Linked DNA regions of Homo sapiens: region 1 is linked to region 2. Evidence: promoter capture Hi-C in human tissues and cell types (Jung and others, 2019). All regions are on one chromosome and are shown on one strand. The core of a region is centred on a gene start or on the middle of the fragment in contact, and the rest is flanking DNA. Distances in the headings are between cores, read along the strand shown.

What was found. Contacts are between HindIII fragments. The study calls those that stand out against the background at their distance.
Region 1: a contact is called between a fragment that was not itself captured here and the fragment with the promoter of CCDC60 in region 2, in 2 of the 25 tissues and cell types used here (dorsolateral prefrontal cortex and spleen).

Annotation. Positions count from the first base shown.
Region 1 is chr12:119,285,910-119,290,152 of GRCh38, reverse strand. The region is part of intron 2 of LINC00934 (long intergenic non-protein coding RNA 934); the gene reads left to right. Among named protein-coding and RNA genes, the nearest start is that of LINC00934, 15 kb to the left of the region's middle. The HindIII fragment of the contact is 3,764 bases long and covers 1-3,639 here.
Region 2 is chr12:119,331,942-119,335,978 of GRCh38, reverse strand. It overlaps CCDC60 (coiled-coil domain containing 60), which reads right to left and starts at 1,250. Exons shown (of 14, transcript NM_178499.5): 1 at 713-1,250. The coding sequence starts at 802. The HindIII fragment of the contact is 4,991 bases long and covers 1-3,178 here.

The DNA.
Region 1 (4,243 bases), core at 508-3,007, 46 kb after region 2:
ATTTTTCTTCCTAGTCTCAGGTATGTCTTTATCAGCAGTGTGAAAACAGACTAATACATCCCACTCTCCTCCGAAATAAAGTACTCATACTCAAATCCTGATCTCAGGATCCCTGATATGGTCTGGCTGTGTCCCCACCCAAATCTCATCTTGAATTGTAGTTCCCATAATCCCCACGTGTCATGGGAGGGAACTGGTGGGAAGTAATTGCGTCATGGGGTGGTTACCCTCATACTGTTCTCATGACAGTGAGTGAGTTGTCACAAGATCTGATGGTTTTATAAGGGGCTTCCCCCTTTGCACGACACTCACCTCTCTTACCTGCCACCATGTAAGAGATGCCTGTTTCACCTTCTGCCATGATTGTAAGTTCCCTGAGGCCTTTCCAGCCATGAGGGACTGTGAGTCAATTAAATCTCTTTCCTTTATAAATTACCCAGTCTTGGGTATTTCTTCATAGCAGTGTGAGAATGGATGAATACAATCCCTTTCTGGTGGAACTCAAACCAAGACAAAGCCCTGTTATTCAGATAATACCTTTATTCCTAGCGCATTTCTAATCCTTTCCTAACTTTGCAAGATGGGTTTCTTTTTTTCTCCAATGAGGAAGCAGAAGATCCATATGACTCTGAAAATATGCTCTTTTCCTCACACCATTCTGCTCCCTAGCAGTTGTAAGCCATTCCCTCCAGCCAGCAGAATACAATTCTTTAATTGGCCACCCATAGCCTCTGTTTAATCTAGCACTTTCTTGATGTTCAGAAGCTTGGTTCTGAATCATTTACTCAATGCTATTCCTCACTGTCTGCTGCATCCTGCCTTTAATACCCCCAACATCTAGTTTCTGTTAGCCCTCTGGATGCAACGCTGGATGCTGTCTCCCTGGCCCTTGACTTTGACTCACCATCCAGCTCCATTGCCCTAGACTTGTCTTGAGAAATACTCTTCCTAGTTGGACTGAGTTCCAGGACTCCTGGTCTTGATACTATCCACTATGGATGATGTTCTGGTTGGTTCATATCATGGCTGTCCCTCTATGTGCTAACAATTCCTATTCTCAGCTGGAGCAAAATGAACTTTTATCCATTACTTAAAATTTGAAAGCACGTCCAGGAAGTTGGGCATACTAGCTGAGCAAGCCGAGTGCCTATCAGAAGAACTTGGACACCACTGCTGGGAATTGGCTAAGTGGGAAGATTTTAATTGTTCCCAGGCTTGTCGCATCCACGTAATTTTCTCTAACGAGCACACACAAAGCAACAAGGAGAGGTGCGGGATTGGATGGCAATTCAATGCCTCATAATGCCAGATGAATTGCAGCGCCTGCTCCACAGTATTGCATTTGCCGATGTCTGGGAGACAGTCTCCATGGATGCTAATTCAATTATGCTGAAACATAGAAGGAAATTGTCAGCCAAATTGCTGCCACGCTGCCGAGCTGTACCTCGCTCTTGCCCCCCGTGCTGTTTCCTGCTGATTCAGCAGCACATGGCAGCTCGTCTAGTCTGGGAATGACCAGGGGCTGTGTTCCACTTGGTATGGTTCTTCAGGCAGACTTCCCATCTTAGACCTCCAAATAGAGAAATGATTCCTTATTAAACTTTTCCTTCCCTTCTTTCACTCTGGCAACACCTCTTGTTACTTATTCATCATCAACAATAAAAATATATGATAAGCTTAAGAGAACTATATTGTTCAACTAGTAAATCTTGATCAAGCATCAGTTAAAGACTGAGAACACAGCAGGGAACAAAAATGGGCATAAATCCATTACTTTAGGAGTTTATGGTCCTGTCTCACTTTCCAAGGATGGAAGATTATTGGGTCAGTTTGAAGGCTTTCTTTGCTTTCTAGAATCTGGATAATGGATAAATGTGAAAACTCAAAAGAGATAGAAAGGCTCAGTAGATTCATAGGAGAAATTGCTGCATGGGAAGAGAAGACTAGGGAACACAAGCCAGGGGGCATGGCTAGGTTTGAAGATTTTAGGGAGTTCATAAAAGAGAAGAGAAGAATGTAGTGGAGCGTTTTGTGGGGAACACAATGAGAAGAAGGAAGTGCATTTTAAGCTTTGCTCTGTTGTGTGAATGGAATGCCTCTGTGCTCTGTGATATTTTTTAAGAGACTTCAGTAATTGCAGTTTTGTGGTATTTTTTTTCTTTTTTTTCTTTTTTTTATTTTTTTAGATGGAGTCTCACTCTGTTGTCCAGGCTGGAGTGCAGTGGCGTGATGTCTGCTCACTGCATCCTCCACCTCCCGAGTTCAAGCGATTCTCCTACCTCAGCCTCCTGAGTAGCTGGGATTACAGGCGCGCACCACCATGGCCAGCTAATTTTTATATTTTTAGTAGAGATGGGGTTTCACCATGTTGGTCAGGCTGGTCTTGAACTCCTGGTCTCGTGATCCACCCACCTCAGCCTCCCAAAGTGCTGGGATTACAGGCATGAGCCACCGTGCCCTGCTGTAATTGCAGTTTTAAACTTGCTTAAAAAAAAAAATCAGTCAAAAAATATTTATTGAATGCCTACTATGTTCCAGGTACAAGATAGATGCAATTTTTTCCTTATCTGGCATGTCGTTCCAAGTGAAAGAGGACTGAATACATGATAGGTACACATATGAGAAGGATGGAACTTCATCCAGGAAGGCAGAGAAGCCTTCGCTGAGCAAATGAGATTTCTGTTGAACTCTGAAGGATTAGGAGTTTGTCAGGCAAAGAGACGCGGGTGGGGAGTATGGACAGTTTCAGACGCAGATAATGGCTTTTGAGAGGGATTCATGGAATGAAAGAATCCAGTTTATTGGCCAAAGCTGTCCTATCAAAAGTAACAATGCTGCGAACTTCTCCACCAGACTCTTCTCAATATCTAGTTTCTAGTTTCAGTGAAATTGAATATTCTCAGGTGAGTTCCTGTAATGTGGGCCTGAATCTGTCTTGCTCCCAACCTCTGCAGCTGATTCTACCCCTGCCACTATTGCCAAGAAAACAAGTTGAGATAAAGCTGATGGTAGATGGGGCAGCGGGCGGAAATTGTTTTTCAGACTGACTGGCTGGCTGCCATAATGGACGTTTCTTTAAATAAGGTTCTGTGCTATGGTGGCTTCAAGGCTTTATATTTATTAGGCACCTATTGTGTACCCAGTTCTGTGTCAAGTCCCAGGAAACAAAAATGAATAGAAGATGTGGTTTGGTTCTTGCTAACTTCTGTCACAACTGTAAAAAAGGCTTTCACAGTGTCTTAATGTCCTAAGACTATGACAGTGTTACTTGGTAGGTGACTTCCAGAGCCCCTTGGAGAGGTCAGACAGACCTGAGTTGGAATACAGGTTCTACCTAATAATAGCTGTATGACTTTAGGCGAGTTAATTCGCCTATGTTTAAGTTTTTCATCTGTTAAAATGAGGATTATAACACCCAACCAAAGGACTGTAGTGAGGCTTAGAGATAGCCTGTGTGTCACTCACCTGGTGAATAAGCGGGACTCTGTTGAGTGTGAGAAGGCACCCTCACTGTTTTCTCCACTGTCCATTGGCAAGGCTTTGATGAGTTGAAGCTTCCTCTGCCCGTGGGTAAAATTTTCAGCATCCCCCATCACTTTGCTGGTGATTCCTGGATAATAAAATGTCCTGAAGTCATTTTTCTCACAGAATAGTTCTGTGTCAGTAATTAAAATGCCTGCTCTTAAGTAATGGTTAAAACTCCAAGTTTCATTTAAAGTTAAAGCTTCTTTCAGACAAACCAACTGTTTTTTTTTAAAAGACATTTCTGAAATAATTGGAGAAATTTGAACAGTAACTGAATAGTAGATGAAATTAAGGTATTCTTAATTGAGTAATGGTACATAAGATATGTGGATATTTACACTGAATTACTAAAGATGAAGTAAGGTGGTGTCTGAGATTTGCTTTTCAATAACTAGTGGTTTGGGGGTAAAGGGTTGGGGTATTAGTGAAACAAGAATGATCATGTTTATTTTATTATTTTTTTGTTATCCTATCTCCTACTTTTATAAGTGCTTGAAAACTTATACAATAAAAGTTTGAAAAAGATTTTAAAGCATCTTTCCTAAACAACCTTATATAATTGGCATGTTGTATAGCACATAAGTCTAGTGGGTATTGTTTATATAATATACATTGTCAATCTATGTATTTATTATAACAGTTCTTTGGCCGATGGCAGTGGTCTGTTGCTTTAATAAAATCAGCATATTTATTATATTGGTAGATGAACTTCTGTGAT
Region 2 (4,037 bases), core at 1-2,500:
CTGAGAATGATGATTTCCAATTTCATCCATGTCCCTACAAAGGACATGAAAACCATAAAAACCCTAGAAGAAAACCTAGGCAATACCATTCAGGACATAGGCATGGGCAAGGACTTCACGTCTAAAACACCAAAAGCAATGGCAACAAAAGACAAAATTGACAAAAGGGATCTAATTAAACTAAAGAGCTTCTGTACAGCAAAAGAAAGTACCATCAGAGTGAACAGGCAACCTACAAAATGGGAGAAAATTTTCGCAACATACTTATCTGACAAAAAGCTAATATCCAGAATCTACAATGAACTTAAACAAATTTACAAGAAAAAAACAAACAACCCCATCAAAAAGTGGGCAAAGGACATGAACAGACACTTCTCAAAAGAAGACATTTATGCAGCCAAAAAACACATGAAAAAATGCTCATCATCACTGGCCATCAGAGAAATGCAAATCAAAACCACAATGAGATACCATCTCACACCAGTTAGAATGGCAATCATTAAAAAGTCAGGAAACAACAGGTGCTGGAGAGGATGTGGAGAAATAGGAACACTTTTACACTGTTGGTGGGACTGTAAACTAGTTCAACCATTGTGGAAGTCAGTGTGGCGATTCCTCAGGGATCTAGAACTAGAAATACCATTTGACCCAGCTAATTCCTATTTCACTTGTTCTCGAAAACATGATTGGTTTCAGCAGAGGGGAGACTTACCTGCCTTAGGTTCTCCGAGGCATAAAAGGGCCGGACAGCCCCCGAGTTGGGGGAACTCTGAAGCTTCTTGGTGGCTGGAACCTTGGTCATCTTAAAAATCCTTCAGGTTTTAGCCTGTGCCCCCAAGACAAGGATTTTTCCAGAATCTTCTACTTCAGTAGTTACTGGTATGAGAAGTTTCGGCAACTTCTCCCTGATCCCCAAGTCCCAATTACACGAACTCCAAAGCGGTTTCCTTCTGAAGAGTAATGAGAAAGCACCTGGGTCTCCCACAGACGGGATAAGGAAGTCCGGGTAGGGCAGAATCAGGCAAGCCTGGACTTATTTACTTTTTGAAAGGTTATAAACTTCTGTAAGCTTCCTCCTCTTCGGAAGGGATATCTTTCTCTTCTATAAGCAAAATAAAATATGAACTAAAAAATAAATAAAATTCCAGTGACAAAGTGTGAGAGGGGTCCCATGGAGGGGCTCCCAGATCGCCATCCTCCGAGAGCGGCCGAGAACTAAGGCGGCCCCAACGAGGGGTTTATCGCACTGCGGGGAAAGTAGGCAACTGCTAACCCTTGGGCCGGGTGGGGGTGGGGGGAACCCAGTTGCTTGGCAACGGGACGCCGAGGAGGGCTTCCTCATTGGCTGGAATTCGTGGGGGCGGGGTCATGGGGGTCGTGAACTCTCCCAGGTTGCTGGGACGCCGGCTCAGAGCAGCCGGCTGCCACCGGAGCTGCATTCTCTAAACAAATTGGTTTCTGTTTTTAGGCCTGAGGACCATACCCTTTCTCTCTGCCTGACTACAAGCGAATCCTTCTTTTCAAACTCTGCTCTGTACTGCTGCTAACCCACTAGTAATTTTTTGTGCCTTGGGGTGGGTGGCCTGTAGTCCTGCAATTCTTAACCTGAGATGCCTATTTCTCCCGTTTTTCCACCTGACAAACTCCTGCTCATCCTTCAAAGCCCTTCATTTCATAAAATGAAATATTGTTATTCCATTTATTTAGCAAAGATTTATTGACTCTGCTAAAATAAAATATAATAAAGTAAAAATGAAATTAAAAAAAATGAGACCTTCAGGACTTCACGATCTATAGTGTGTATGTTTGGGATGGGGAGCAAAAGATAAGAAACATTGTTATAAGGCAGGATGATTTATGATGTGCTGGGAAAGTATCATAGGGTATTGTGGGAGCAAAGAAAAGGGACAGCTGTATATAGATATAGATATATGCACACACATACATATACACATATATGAATATACATATGTAGACATGTATATATGTGTGTATATACGTATTTGTGTGTGTGGGCATGTATGCATATGACATTTATTGAGTGCTTAGGATGTGCTAGACACTGTTCTAAGTGTCACATACTGACTCAATCCATACAGCACCTCTTTAAAGAAGGTGTTTTATTACCCCATTGTACAGCCTAAGCAACTGAAGCACAGAGACATTAAATGACAAGTTTAAAGTCACGCATGTGCTGCAGCTGAAATTCAAAGCCAGAACTGTTTGAGTCTAAAGAGCAAGCTTTTAACCACTTAGATGCCTAACTTTGCTGAGTTTGGCTTCTATGTCTTTAAAATGGGGATACTATCTTTGCCACAGGTTGTTAAGAATTGAAGTGGATGATGCATATGAAGGCTGAGCCCATGGGGAGTCCTAGCTAAGTGGTACTATTATTATTCCCTGACATCACTTCCCGAGGAAGAATCAGGCATTCTCACTGTGCTGGGTTCATTTCACAGCAGATGTTAGTACTAACTGATATTTATTGATCACTTGCTCTGTGCTAGGTACTGTACTAAGCACTTCGCATACATTAATTCATTTAATCCTTCCAATAACCCTACGGGGTAGGTTCCCAGCCTGCAGCAGATTTATTTCGTATGTTTGGATTTGAATGCCTTATCCTTGGCATTGTTTCACACTGGATCGATCTGATTCCTGTTTTATCCAACAACCTTGAGCTGCTGGGGATTATGATATCATTATGGCTGCATCTTCTCTCTTTCTTTCTTTCTTTTTCTTTTTCTTTTTTTTTGAGGCAGAGTCTTGCTGTGTTGCCCAGGCTGGAGTGCAGTGGCGTGATCTCGGCTCACTGCAACCTCCGCCTCCCGGGTTCAAGCGATTCTCCTGCATCAGCCTTCTGAGTAGCTGGGATTACAGGGGCATGCCACCAGGCAGGCCAGGCTAATTTTTGTATTTTTAGTAGAGACGGGGTTTCACCATGTTGGCCAGGCTGGTCTCAAACTCCTGAACTCAAGTTATCTGCTGGGATTACAGGTGTGAGCCATGGCGCCCAGCTCATCTTCTCTTTAGAAGGCATCTACTGCAAGATGACACTCTACAGAATGCAAAATACCTAGCCAAGTAACTCTAGATGCTGGTGCCTGAAAGTCATTATTTTCTCACCATTGCCTAAAGACTGACCCTGACCTTCCCTTTCACAGGAAGTTTTGGTTCTCCGGCTTCTTTTGTGGGCAGCATTAAGCAATCGGCAGACACTTTCAGAATGAAGCAGATAAAGGGAATCATGTTTGGGAGATAGGGCTGGGGATGAGGGGATGAGGGGATGAGAAAACAAGGCAGGATGGGAAATGTTCAGCCCTGAGCAGAACAGACAAAAGCTGTCTTCATATGATTTTGTAGAACAGGCTTGGCAAAGAGGAACTCAACTAGTTCTGTATTAGCTCAAAGAATAGGAGGAGGTTTGGGCTCAATAGGAAGAAATGTGTACACAGCAGAACATAATTTTAAAAGGTGTGACCTCTGGAATCCAACTGAATTAGCCACTGAGCAGCTTCAATGATAATTCTCATAGGACTGTGATGAAAACCAAATGGGATAACTCATGCAAAGCACAATGCCTAGCACGGAGGAAGTGCTCAATAAATATTAGCCCTTATTTCCTTTGTTGTTTTTATAATACTCACCTGTCAGAGCCATGTAAGAACTGGAAATAGGAAGGGCTCTAGAACTGAAAAGACATGCGTTCAATTCCTGGCTCTGCCATTTGTTACCAATAAGACCTGGGTCAAGTTCACTTCTCCAAGCCTCAATTTTTCACGTGTATAAAACTCATGTGTAGTGAATGGTTATGCCAATTTTATACCTGCTACCAGGATGATGAAGCAAAATAACGAATTTCCCTTCTCTGTCTAGGAAGGGGTATATTCTTTAGAGAGGGAACAAACTACCCAGCACTAGAGGTGTTCAACTAAATGCCATATGGCTTCTTGGATTTTTGATCACTTGGGGGTGTCAGACTACATGATATTTAAGGCTCTTTCCAAACCGATATTGAGAGACTATATGGAGTACTA